Linked DNA regions of Homo sapiens: region 2 is linked to region 1. Evidence: promoter capture Hi-C in human tissues and cell types (Jung and others, 2019). All regions are on one chromosome and are shown on one strand. Each heading gives the region's core, a stretch centred on a gene start or on the middle of the fragment in contact. The rest is flanking DNA. Distances are from core to core; before and after follow the strand shown. Region 1 holds the start of SLC25A20 (solute carrier family 25 member 20). Region 2 has its middle 8.3 kb from the start of IP6K2.

What was found. Contacts are between HindIII fragments. The study calls those that stand out against the background at their distance.
Region 2: a contact is called between a fragment that was not itself captured here and the fragment with the promoter of SLC25A20 in region 1, in 1 of the 25 tissues and cell types used here (dorsolateral prefrontal cortex).

What each region holds. Positions count from the first base shown.
Region 1 is chr3:48,894,960-48,902,312 of GRCh38, reverse strand. It overlaps SLC25A20 (solute carrier family 25 member 20), which reads left to right and starts at 3,431. Exons shown (of 9, transcript NM_000387.6): 1 at 3,431-3,623. The coding sequence starts at 3,519. RefSeq lists a silencer at 3,691-3,880 and an enhancer at 4,461-4,510. The HindIII fragment of the contact is 14,411 bases long and covers 1-7,353 here.
Region 2 is chr3:48,722,135-48,728,935 of GRCh38, reverse strand. No RefSeq gene overlaps it. Among named protein-coding and RNA genes, the nearest start is that of IP6K2, 8.3 kb to the right of the region's middle. The HindIII fragment of the contact is 6,623 bases long and covers 1-4,963 here.

The DNA.
Region 1 (7,353 bases), core at 2,182-4,681:
ATGAGCCATGGTGCCTGGCCCTGATGATGATGATGATGATTATTGAGACAGAGTCTTGCTCTGTGGCCAGGCTGGAGTGCAGTGGTGCCATCTCAGCTCACTGCCACCTCCCACTCCCTGGTTCAAGTGATTCTGTTGCCTCAGCCTCCCTAGTATTGGGATTACAGGCACATGCCACCATGCCCAGCTAATTTTTGTATTTTTAGTAGAGATGGGGTTTCATTATGTTGGCCAGGATGGTCTTGATCTCCCGACCTCACGATCCACTCACCTTGGCCTCCCAAAGTGCTGGGATTACAGGTGTGAGCCACTGCGCCTGGCCCCTCATTCGAATGAGAATGCTTGATTGCCTATTTTTTCCTGTGTGAAGGCATTTATGAATCCCTTTCTAAAAATTTGCTCCAATGCATATAGTTGTTTTTTTGTGGTTTTTTTTTTTTTGAGACGGAGTTTTGCTCTGTCACCCAGGGTGGAGTGCAATGGCGTGGTCTCGGCTCACTGCAACTTCTGCCTCCTGGGTTCAAACGATTCTCCTGCCTCAGCCTCCTGAGCAGTTGGGATTATAGGTACATGCCAGCACGCCTAGCTAATTTTTGTATTTTTAGTAGAGAGAGCATTTCACCATGGTGGCCAGGCTGGTCTCGAACTTTGACCTCATGATCCGCCTGCCTGGGCTTCCCAAAATGTTGGGATTACAGGTGTGAGCCACTGTGCCCGGCCCATAATTCTTTTTTTTTCTTTTCTTTTTTTTTTTTTTTTGAGACGGAGTCTCACTCTGTTGCCCAGGCTGGAGTGCAGTGGCGCGATCTCGGCTCCCTACAAGCTCCACCTCCTGGGTTCTTGCCATTCTCCTGCCTCAGCCTCCTGAATAGCTGGGACTACAGGCTACTGCCACCACGCCCGGCTAAGTTTTTGTATTTTTAGTAGAGATGGGGTTTCACCGTGTTAGCCAGGATAGTCTCGATCTCCTGACCTCATGATCCGCCCACCTCGGCCTCCCAAAGTGCTGGGATTACAGGCGTGAACCACTGCGCCCAGCCCCGGCCCCATAATCTTAAATCTTCTTTGACACCCTTTATATCCTTTTTATATCCTTTTTATTTATTTATTTATTTTAATTTATTTTATTTTTTTTTGAGAAAGAGTCTCACTCTGTTGCCAGGCTGGAGTGCAGTGGCGTGATCTTGGCTAACTGCAAAATCCACCTCCCGGGTTCACGCGATTCTCCTGCCTTAGCCTCCTGAGTAGGTGGGACTGCAAGCACTGTGCCATCACACCTGGCTAATTTTTTGTGTTTTTAGTAGAGAAGGGGTTTCACTGTGTTACCCAGGATGGTCTCGATCTCCTGACCTCATGATCTGTATGCCTCGGTCTCCCAAAGTGCTGGGATTACAGGCGTGAACCACTGTGCCTAGCTGCTTTATATCCTATTAATTGACAACTTAAAATTTTTTTTTCTTTAGACTATATCCAGAATCTGGCCACCTCTTTTTTTTTTTTTTTTTTTTTTTTGAGACGGAGTCTTGCTCAGTCACCCAGGCTGGAGTGCAGTGGCACGATCTCAGCTCACTGCAACCTCCGCCTCCCAGGTTCACGCCATTCTCCTGCCTCAGCCTCCCGAGTAGCTGGAACTACAGATGCCCGCCACGATGCCCGCCATGATGCCCGGCTAATTTTTTTGTTTGTATTTTTAGTAGAGACGGGGTTTCACCATGTTAGCCAGGATGGTCTCGATTTCCTGACCTTGAGATCCACCCGCCTCGGCCTCCCAAAGTGCTGGGATTACAGGCGTGAGCCACCACGCCCGGCCGAATCTGACCACTTCTTACTACCTCCTCTGTTATGCCCTGGCGCAAGTCAACATCTCTGGCCATGGCTTTTAGCCTCCTTAAGGCTCCTTGTTTCTTCTTGCCCCCTGGAGTCTATTTTCACCCAGCAATCAAAGGGGGATCCTGATAACGATGTCAGACTATGTCGCTCCCCACTCAGTACCCTGCAATGACTTCTACGTCCTTCAGAGGAGAGACAGTGGCAAGATCTCGGTTCACTGCAAGCTCCGCCTCCTGGGCTCAAGCGATTCTCCTGCCTTAGACTCTCGAGTAGCTGGGATCACAGGCATAGGCGTCTGCCATTACGGCTGGCAAGTTTTTGTATTTTTAGTAGAGACGGGGTTTGACCATGTTGGCCAGGCTGGTCTTGAACTCCTGACCTCAGGTGATCCACCTGCCTTGGCCTTCCAAAGTGCTGGGATTATAGGCATGAGCCACTGCGTCGGGCCTTTAACTTTTTTTTTTTTTTTTTTTTTTTTTTTTTGTAGAGACAGTGTTTCGCTCTTTTTGCCCAGGCTGGAGTGCAATGGCACGATCTGGGCTCACCGCAATCTCTGCCTCCCAAGTTCAAGTGATTCTCCTGCTTCAGCCTCCCAAGTAGCTGGGATTACAGGCATGCGCCACCATGCCCCGCTAATTTTGTATTTTTAGTAGAGACGGGGTTTCTCCATGTTGGTCAGGCTGGTCTCAAACTCCTGACCTCAGTTGATATGCCTGCCTTGGCCTCCCAAAGTGCTGGGATTACAGGTGTGAGCCACTGGGCCCGGCCTAACTTTTTTTTTTTAGAGACAAGAGTCTCGCTATATAAGTCAGGCTGGTCTCAAACTCCTGGGTTTAAGCAATCCTCTCGCCTTGGCCTCCCAAAGAGCTGGGATTACAGACATGAGCCATAACACCAGGCCCAAACCTGTCTTCTAGTGCCTCCAAAACCTCTGTCGCCTCATCAGCTACTACCCTCCCTCTTCCTGTGGTTTCTCAAACATGTCAGGCACAGACCATCTCAAGGCTTTTGCATTTTCTTTTTCTTCTGGGTGGAAGGTTCCTCACCCTTGACCCTGTTATGTGTGAACAGAACTCCCTCTCTCATCTTCTCAGGTCTTGAATCCTGTCACCTTTTCAGTTAAACCCTCCCTTATTCAACGAACTAAAATTGCAAATCACTTGTCCCACACACCCTCTAACTCTCTTCCTGGATTTTTCTCCGTAGTACTTATTACTACTTGATACACTATGCATTTTTTAGTTATTTATCTTTGTTATGGTCTGTAAATTCCAGGAGGACAGGGACCTGTGTGTTGTACTACCAGGGGTGCCTCCAGCACCTAGAAGGACGCCTGGCATATGGCAGGGCGCAATTGATCTCTCTGGAGTGAGTGGATGAATGGGAGCTCAGAGGAAACATGGAAGTCTGGGAAGGCTTCCTGGAGGAATAGGCCCGCTGGCCCACACTCCCAAACCCCGCCCATGCGGCTTTGCGCTCTGCCACGCCCATCGAAGCGGGGCCGAGGCCGGAAGCAGCCCCGGGCGGAAGCCCTACCGTGCCAACTGGGCCCTCCTCCCGACCTGCCCCGGGCTCGTGCCCCGCCCACCCAAAAGTGGGTGAAAGGTCGGCGGCGCCGGCACTGCAGCTGGGGCTGAGAAGCCAGGACGGCCCGAGAACTGACAGACGGAGTGACAGACGGACTGACCATGGCCGACCAGCCAAAACCCATCAGCCCGCTCAAGAACCTGCTGGCCGGCGGCTTTGGCGGCGTGTGCCTGGTGTTCGTCGGTCACCCTCTGGACACGGTCAAGGTGCGGGAGGCTGGGTCGCAGGCTTTGGGGAGGAGGCCCGGGCGGGGCGCGGAAAGCATGGTCCCCCGCGAGGCGCGGACGCTGGGCAGAAGAGGGGCATGTGTGAGCTTCCGTGAGAAGTCTAGGGAATCTCTCTTTCAGGGGTGGGCAGGAAGCTGTACCTTGCGCCCCAAAGAGCCAGGCGGCGGCGCAAAGTGAGCAGCCTCTAACTGCCTGTCAAGAGCTCTGATGTAAAGTTCCCTGTCCCGCAGTCTCTTCTGACCCTGCGCCACTTCTTTAGGGATGGGAAGGAATAAACGTCTCTCCATAGTTTTGGTTTCAGCCAACACTAATATTATCGTTAAGGTTGAAACAGGTCCCCTGTAAAGCCTGCCCCAGGAAGACAACTAAAGACAGAGCGGTACGGTTGTTCTGGAGGTGTCCTTTGATACATTCCCCTGGGGCAAGAGTACCCATCTCTTTCGCACCTTTCCCGGCCCGGGGAGATACTTGACACTCTTCGGCCTGTCACCCAACGGTGGCCTGCTCAGCCTCCTGGGCAGAGGCATCCCTGTGAGAAGCAATGATGACCTCAGTGACCGAGCCCCTTCCACGGAAAGCAAGGTGATCAGCTTTGCACAAGGCCAGCCTCATTCTCACAACTCCCAGATGAGGAAGCTATGGTCAGACTGAGGCTTGGGAGGGAGGACGTTCATCAGGAATTGTTCTCTGGTCTTCCTCATATCATATCTCAACTATTCCCCTTGCAACACCTTCATTAATGCTTTGCTTGGGGACCAAAGTCCATCCCCCATGGCTTAGCACTCGAAGCTGCATCCAGTTTTCTCACTTTTTTTCTAGACGTAGACGTGAAGGAAATTGACAAGTCATTGCCAGGGTGGGCCTGTGGGGAGCAGACATGAGTTTTAAAAGATTGGAAGCCCATGTGAGGGGGTTTGTTAGGATGTTGGGTCAGATTTCTTCCACAGCGAAATAGTTTTGTGGGCACTTCCTCTTGGCCAGCTTGGGCAGCAAGCTCTTTGCTGCCTTTCATCCAAGAGAGGAGCTGCCCTGAAGTAGAGCTCATACTGGGGTCATTCTATAGGAAGACCAGGGTTAAAGTAGCTGGACTGGCTAGGTCATTGTGCAACATGAAATCAAATGTTTATTTAGCTGGTGGTAAATGCCATGTGTTAGTGCTTCCCAGACTGTGGTCATTCCAAGCGGCACTGTCTACTGAGGGACGATTGTCTGGCCTTTCTTCCTGCTCTTGGTCCATATAGGCAGATATCTTATTAGTTCTAGGCCTCTGGGGCCGCCCTTAAAAAAAAAAAAAAAAAAAATATATATATATATATATATATTCACACACACACAAATATTGCTCCTACCTCCATATCACCTTTGTCCTTGATGTCACTCCCAAGAAGGACTGGATGACCTCTGCACTGAAGTGCAAATAACTGAAATGCTCACTGGCATATTTAGCAACCAGAAAGCCTCTTTTTAGCTTAAACCAAAACCACAAATTGCTGACTGCTGTGTTTTTGGCCTTAGTGAGCTGGGTGGGCTCCAATCAAAGCCTGACCTTAAGGTACTTTCAGAGTTCCAAGGTTAAAAAAAAAAAAAAAAAAGGAGAAGAAGAAAAAAAAGAAGTCCAAGATAGTGTAACTGAGCTGTGGGCTGTGTGTCCTGACAAGGCAAAAGCTGCAGCGCTTCAGAGTGGGTCATGAAAAGGCTCTATGGAAGGTGGTGCGTTAGAACAGGCATTCAAGTGCTGGGTGAGTTCAGACTGAAGGAGTAGGGAGACCCAGACAGTCTGATGGGAAGGCAGGAGTGAAGGTGAGTGTGGCTTGCAAGTGGGGATCATATTATAAAATAAGACAACCTAGGCCGGTCACGGTGGGCTCATGCCTGTTAATCCCAGCACTTTGGGAGGCTGAGGCAGGTGGATCACCTGAGGTCAGGAGTTCGAGACCAGCCTGGCCAACATGGTGAAATCCCATCTCTACTAAAAATACAAAAAAAAAAAATTGGCTGCATGTGGTGGCAGGTGCCTGTAATCCCAGCTAATTGGGAGGCTGAGGCAGGAGAATCGCTTGAACCCACAGGGCGGAGGTTGCAGTGAGCTGAGATTGTGCCATTGCACTCCAGCCTGGGTGACAGAGTGAGACTCCTTCCCAAAAACAAAACAAAACAAAACAAAACAAAACAAAACAAAACAAAAACCACCTGCAAAGGACTTTAATGTTCTTGCTGGTTTGGATGGCTGATATCCTGTTGAGACAGGTATGAGGTATGAAGTGTATATAAAATCACAAAAAGGCAGCCTTGGCAACATGGCAAGACCTCATGTCTATAAAAAATACAAAAATTAGCTGGGCATGGTGGTGCACATCTGTAATCCCAGCTACTCAGGCGGCTGAGGCTGGAGGATCGGTTGAACCTAGGAGTTTGAGGCTGCAGTGAGCCTTTGCACTCCATTCTGGGCAACAGAATGAGACACTGTCTCAAAAGAAAAAAAAAATCACAACAAGGTATTAGTCAGAATTTTTTTTTTTTTTTTTTTTGAGACAAGACTCTCCCTCTGTCACCCAGGCTGGAGTACAGTGGCAGGATCTTGGCTCATGGCAACTTCCATCTCCCGAGTTCAAGCAATTCTTTTGCCTCAGCCTCCTGAGTAGCTGGGATTATAGGTGCCCACCACCATGCCTGGCTAATTTTTGTATTTTTAGTAGAGATGGGGTTTCTCCATGTTGGGCAGGCTGGTCTCAAACTCGTGGCCTCAAGTGATCCTCCGGCCTTGGCCTCCTGAAGTGCTGGGATTATAGGTGTGAGCCACTGTACCTGGTCTAGTCAGAAGCTTTGATCCATTTCTCTCTCTCTACTAACTAGGGGAGGTTATGCCTGACTATGGGAGATCTGAAGGACAATATGAGGGATTTTGGATGTAAAGGTATGGTGGCCTCTGGGCATTTCTATTGTGTCCCATAAACCCCTCAGACTTACGTGTCACCTCTGTTGCCCAGAGAGGGACTTCCTTGGTTTGATATGGAAGGCCCTGACAAATACAAGAATAATAAATTCTAAAGAAATTATTAAAAAAATGGTAAAAATGATGATATAGAAGGACCTGACAAATACAAGAATAAGAGATTCCAAAGAAATAAAGAAACAACATGGTAAAAATGATGTTTTGGAAAGGTTAGTATAATAGCAACCTTGAGAAGGATTTGGAAGCAGAACAGTGAGCAGGAAAAACATCCAGGAAGGGCTGGGCGCGGTGGCTCACGCCTGTAATCCCACTTTGGGAGTCTGAGGCGGGCAGATCACCTGAGGTTGGGAGTTCAAGAGCAGGTGACCAACATGGAGAAGCTCCGTCTCTACTAAAAATACAAAATTAGGCCAGGCATGGTGGCTCACGCCTATAATCCCAGCACTTTGGGAGGCTGAGGCGGGCAGATCACCTGAGATTGGACGTTCGAGACCAACCTGAGCAACGTGGAGAAATCCCATCTCTACTAAAAACACAAAATTAGCTGGGCTTGGTGGTGCATACCTGTAATCCCAGCTACTTGGGAGGCTGAGGCAGGAGAATCGCTTGAACCCAGGAGGCAGAGGTTGCGGTGAGCCCAGATCGCACCATTGCTGTGCAGCCTGGGCGACGAGTGAAACTACATCTCAAAAAATAAATAAATAAATAAAAATAAATATACAAATGCAAAATTATCCGGGAGTGGTGGCACATGCC
Region 2 (6,801 bases), core at 403-2,902, 170 kb after region 1:
CCTCCCTGGTCTCTGCTCCCAATGTGACTCGTCCCAAATCTTTCTTCTTTTTCTCCTGTCTGTTCCTTCAGTCTCCACCCCAAGCTCTTGAGTCCTTTCAATCTTTCTTTTCTACCTACCCATCTGACCTCTCCCCTCCTCCCCAGACTTCTCCTCTTCAGGTCGCTCTCCGCCAGTCTGAATCAGGCTCAAATTCTTCCTCAGCCTCTGCTCCTCCACCCTACAACCCTTCTATCACCTCCCCTCCTGATACCTGGTCTGGCTTACAGTTTCATTCTGTGACTAGCTCTTCCCCACCTGCCCAACAATTTCCTCTTAGAGAGGTGGCTGGAGCTGAAGGCATAGTCAGGGTACATGTGCCTTTTTCTCTATCAGACCTTTCCCAAATCAGCCAGCTTTTAGGCTCTTTCTCATCAGACCTCACTAAATATATACAGGAATTCCGATATCTAACTCTGTCGTACAATTTAACCTGGAGTGACTTAAATGTCATCCTAACTTCTACCCTCTCCCCACATGAACAGGAAAGAGTTTTTTCTCTAGCCCAGTCTCATGCTGACAACTGCTGGTGTCATGAGCCAGACCTCCAAGAAGGCAGTAGAGCAGTTCTCTAAGCGGATCCCCAATGAAACTATCAGGCAGATTCCCCAGGTATAGCTAGGCAAGATTACATGGTTTCCTGCCTAGTTGAAGGGCTTAAAAAGGCAGCATACAAAGCTGTTAATTACGATAAACTTAAAAAAAAAACCTACCCAAGGTAAAGACGAAAACCCAGCCCAGTTCATGGCTCATTTGGCAGCAACCCTGAGACACTTTACAGCCCTAGACCCTGAAGGGTCAGAAGGCCGTCTCATTCTCAATATACATTTTATCACCCAGTCAGCTCCTGACATGAAAAAAAAAAAAAAAAAAAGCTTCAAAAATTGGAATCTGGCCCTCAAACCCCACAACAGGAATTAATCAATCTCACCTTCAAGGTGTACAGTAATAGAGAGCAGGCAGCCAGACGGCAACACATTTCTGAGTTACGATTACTTGCCTCTGCTGTGAGACAAAATCCAGCCGCACCTCCAGCACATAAGAACTTCAAAATGCCTAAACCACAGTGGTCAGGCATTCCTACAGGACCTCCTCCATCAGGATCTTGCTTCAAATGCCAGAAATCTGGCCACTGGGCCAAGGAGTGCCCACAGCCTGGGATTACTCCCAAGCCGTGTCCCATCTGTGCAGGGACCAACTGGAAATCAGACTGCCCATCTTGCCTGGCAGCCACTCCTAGAGTCCCTAAAGCTCTGGGCCAAGGCTCTCTGACTGACTCCTTCCCAGATCTGCTCGGCTTAGCGGCTGAAAACTGATGCTGCCTGATCACTTCAGAAGCCCCCTGGACCATCACGGATGCCGAGCTTCGGGTAACTCTCACAGTGAAGGCTAAGTCCATCCCCTGTTTAATCGATACAAGGGCTACCCACTCCACGTTACCTTCTTCTCAAGGGCCTGTTTCCCTTGCCCCCATAACTGTTGTGGGTATTGATGGCCAAGCTTCAAAACCCCTTAAACTCCCCCACTCTGGTGCCAACGTGGACAACATTCTTTTATGCACTCCTTTTTATTTATTTCCACCTGCCCACTTTCCTTATTATGTCAAGACATTCTAACTAAATTATCTACTTCCCTGACTATTCCTGGGCTAGAGCCACACCTCATTGCTGCCCTTTTCCCCAATTCAAAGCCTCCTTCACATCCTCCCCTTGTGTCTCCTTACCTTAATCCACAAGTATAAGATACCTCTACTCCTACCTTGGTGACCAATCATGCACCCCTTATGATCCCATTAAAACCTAATCACCCTTACCCCACTCAATGCCAATATCCCATCTCACAGCAGGCTTTAAAAAAGTTAAAGCCTGTTATCACTCACCTGCTACAGCATGGGCTTCTAAAGCCTATAAACTCTCCTTACAATTCCCCCATTTTACCTGTCCAAAAACCAGACAAGTCTTACAGGTTAGCTCAGGATCTGCACCTTATCAACAAAATTGTTTTGCCTATCCACGCTGTGGTGCCCAACCCATACATTCTTTTGTCCTCAATACCTTCCTCCACAACGCACTATTCCGTTCTTGATCTTAGAAACACTTTTTCACTATTCCCCTGCACCCCTCGTCCCAGGCCCTCTTTGCTTTTACCTGGACTGACCCTGACACCCATCAGCCTCAGCAACTTACCTGGGCTATACTGCCGCAAGGCTTCAGGGACAGCCCCCATTACTTCAGTCAAGCCCAAATTTCTTCCTCACCCAATTACCTATCTTGGCATAATTTTTCATAAAAACACACATGGTGTTTATGTCTGGTGATTATGTCTGGCTAATCTCCCAAACCCCAACCCCTTCTATAAAACAACAACTTTTTTCCTTTCTGGGCATGGTTGGATACTTTCACCTTTGGATACGTGGTTTTGCCATCCTAACAAAACCATTATATAAACTCACAAAGAAAAACCTAGCTGACCCCATAGATCCTAAATCCTTTCCCCACTCCTGTTTCCATTCCTTAAAGACAGCTCTAGAGACTGCTCCCACACTAGCTCTGCCTGACCCATCCCAACCCTTTTCATTACACACAGCTGAAGTGCAGGGCTGTGCAGTCAAAATTCTTACACAAGGACTGGGACTGCACCCTGTGGGCTTTTTGTCCAAACAAATTGACCTTACTATTTTAAGCTGGCCATCATGCCTCTGTGCGGTGGCTGCCACCACCCTAATAGTTTTACAGGCCCTCAAATTCACAAACTATGGTCAACTCACTCTCTACAGTTCTCATAACTTCCAAAATCTATTTTCTTCCTCACACCTGACGCATATACTTTCTGCTCCCTGGCTCCTTCAGCTATACTCACTCTTTGTTGAGTCTCCCACAATTACCATTGTTCCTGGTCTGGACTTCAATCTGGCCTCCCACATTATTCCGGATACCACTCCGACCCCCATGACTGTATCTCTCTGATCCACCTGACATTCACTCCATTTACCCATATTTCCTTCTTTCCTGTTCCTCACCCTGATCATACTCGGTTTATTGATGGCAGTTCCACCAGGCCTAATTGCCACTCACCAGCAAAGGCAGGCTATGCTATAGTATCTTCCACATCTATCATTGAGGCTACCACTCTGCCCAGCTCCACTACCTCTCAGCAATCTGAACTCATTGCCTTAACTCGGGCCCTCACTCTTGCAAAAGGACTACACGTCAATATTTATACTGACTCTAAATATGCCTTCCATATCCTGCACCACCATTGCTGTTATATGGGCTGAAAGAGGTTTCCTCACTACGCAAGGGTCCTCCATCATTAACGCCTCTTTAATAAAAACTCTTCTCAAGGCTGCTTTACTTCCAAAGAGTCATTCACTGCAAGGGCCATCAAAAGGCATCAGATCCCATCGCTCAAGGCAACAGTTATGCTGATAAGACAGCTAAACAAGCAGCTAGCATTCTAACTTCTGTCCTTCGTGGCCAGTTTTTCTTCCTCTTATCAGTCACTCCCACCTACTCTCCCACTAAAACTTCCACCTGTCAGTCTCTTCCCACACAAGGCAAGTGGTTCTTAGACCAAGAAGAATATCTCCTTCCAGCCTCACAGGCCCATTCTATTCTGTCATCATTTCATAACCTCTTTAATGTAGGTTACAAGCCGCTAGCCCATCTCTTTTGTTTTTGTTTTTGTTTTTGAGACAGAGTCTCGCTCTGTTGGCTAGGCTGGAGTGCAGTGACACGATCTTGGCTCACTGCAAGCTCCGCCTCCCGGGTTCACGCCATTCTCCCGCCTCTGCCTCCCCAGTAGCTGGGAGTACAGGCACCCACCACCACGCTCAGCTAATTTTTTTGTGTTTTTAGTAGAGATGGGGTTTCACCATGTTAGCCAGGACGGTCTCAATCTCCTGACCTTGTGATCTGCCCACCTCGGCCTCCCAAAGTGCTGGGATTACAGGTGTGAGCCACCACGCCCGGCCCTAGCCCGTCTCTTAAAACCTCTTATTTTGTTTCCATTGTGGAAATCTATCCTCAAAAAAGTCACTTCTCAGTGTTCTATCTCCTGTTCTACTACTCCTCAGGGATTGTTCAGGCCCCCTCCCTTCCCTACACATCAAGCTCAGGGATTTGCCCCTGCCCAGGACTGGCAAATTGACTTACTCACATGCCCTGAGTCAAAAAACTAAAATACCTCTTGGTCTGGGTAGACACTTTCACTGGATGGGTAGAGGCCTTTCCCACAGGGTCTGAAAAGGCCACCGCGGTCATTTCTTCCCTTCTGTCAGACATAATTCCTCAGTTTGGCCTTTCCATCTCTATACAGTCCGATAACAGACTGGCCTTTATTAGTCATATCACCCAAGCAGTTTCTCAGACTCTTGATATTCAGCAAAACCTTCACACCCCTTACCGTCCTCAATCTTCAGGAAAGGTAAAATGGACTAATGGTATTTTTTTTTTTTTTGAGACAGAGTCTTGTTCTGTCTCCCAGGCTGGAGTGCAGTGGCCCAGTCTCTGCTCACTGCAAGCTCTGCCTCCCAGGTTCACACCATTCTCCTGCCTCAGCCTCCCATGTAGCTGGGACTACAGGTGCCCGCCACCACACCTGGCTAATTTTTTGTATTTTTTTTAGTAGAGACAGGGTTTCACCATGTTAGCCAGGATGGTCTTGATCTCCTGACCTCATGATCCGCCCGCCTCGGCCTCCCAAAGTGCTGGGATTACAGGTGTGAGCCACCGCACCTGGCCAGACTAATGGTATTTTAAAGACACACCTCACTAAGCTCATCCTTCAACTTAAAAAGGACTGGACAGTATTTTTACCTGTTGCCCTTCTCAGAATTAGAGCCTGTTCTCGAGATGCTACAGGGCACAGTCCATTTAAACTTTTATATGGACGTACTTTCTTGTTCAGCCCCAGCCTCGTCCCAGACACCAGCCCTCTAGGTGACTATCTTCCAGTCCTCAAGCAGGCTAGACAGGAAATTCGCCAGGCTGCTAATCTTCTCTTGCCTACTCCAGATTCCCAGACATATAAAGACACCCTAGCTGGACGATCAGTTCTTATTAAAAATCTGACCCCTCAAACTCTACAACCTCGATGGACTGGACCCTACTTAGTCATCTATAGCACCCCAACTGCCATCCGCCTGCAGGACCCTCCCCATTGGGTTCACCATTCCAGAATAAAGCTGTGTCTGTCAGCCAGCCAGCCTGATCTCTCTTCTTCCTCCTGGAAGTCGGAAGTACTCTCCCCTACTTCCCTTAAACTCACTCGCATTTCTGAAAAACAGTAATAACCCTTATGAGCCTAATACATCCCTTCATTCTTTTAAGTCTATTCATCCTTACCCTACTTTTTGCAACAGGGCTATACGCAGTCACCCCCACTACTTGGACTATGCCCCAAAAACTTGTCATCCCTACTATCTTCTGTGTAGTCATACTCCTATTCACCATTCTCAACTACTCATAAATGCCCTGCCCTTGTTTACACTGCCAGTTTACACTTTTCCTCCAAACCATCATAACTGATATCTCCTGGTTTTATCTCAAACTGCCACCCTTAAATCTCTCTTGAAGTAAATAAAAGATCTTCAGTGGCAAGGTACACTCCAATACTTTCACCCTGATGAAGTCCTATTCTCTCCATAGTTTTGTCGTTGCTATATTGCTTACTTTGATGACCATTCCTTGCCTTCTGATGAGTTTCAACGTCTTTTCATGTTGTGAGGTTCTGTCCATTGCCTCTTAATACCCTTTTCTCCTTCTTTGCTAACAAACCTCAATTTTGTCCAGGAGGGTAAGTGTCCAGTCCCAAGTAATAGACAAATCCTGACCCATTCTCTGACTTCTCAGCCTCCTTGTGAGCCTGAGAAGCCTGAGTCACTGGTCAATGAACAATAAATGGAAGTCTGCTGGGGCTTCTGGGAAAGCATTTGCTTACCTGATAAAGGGGATAGATGTGGCTGGTGCCAGCCTACCTCCTACTTTGAATACTGATATGATGTTTGGAAAGGATGCAGCTATCTTTCAATGCAAGGGCCATAAGCCTGAGGACAGAATCCAACACATCAAGGATGATGGTGGAAGTATCCAAATAGCCTGAGTTATATGCAACAGAAACAAATGGTGTGTCCACCAAAAGACATGTAAAAGAACATTTGGCCACGCACGGTGGCTCACGCCTGTAATCCCACCACTTTGGGAGGCTGAGGTGGGTGGATCACCTGAGGTCAGGAGTATGAGACCAGCCTAACCAACATGGTGAAACCCTGTCTCTACATAAAATACAAAAATTAGTGGTGGTGCACGCCTGTAGTCCCAGCTACTCAGGAGGCTGAGGCAGGAGAATCGGTTGAACTTGGGAAGAGGAGGTTGCAGTGAGCCGAGATCATGCCACTGCACTCCAGCCTGGGCGACAGAGAAGACTCTGTCTCAAAAACAAAAACAAAAACAAAAACAAAAACAATATTTTATATTTTTGTTCTTAAATATTTGAAATTAAATATTTTTCTCATTTTTATTCATTTCTAGGGGCCAATTTGTAGCAAATGCTATTATTTTTAATGTATTTTTCTTGTATTTATCACCTTAACATTTTATCTTATTAATTGTAATAATTTTCAAGAAAGTCCTTTGGATTTTCTAGATTTGTAACCACGGCATTAACTAAAGAGATAGTTTAATGTCTTTCTCTCCAATATTTATAACATGCCATTTTCTTTTCTTATTATATTCGTTAGGATTCTTTTTTTCCCTCCAAAGC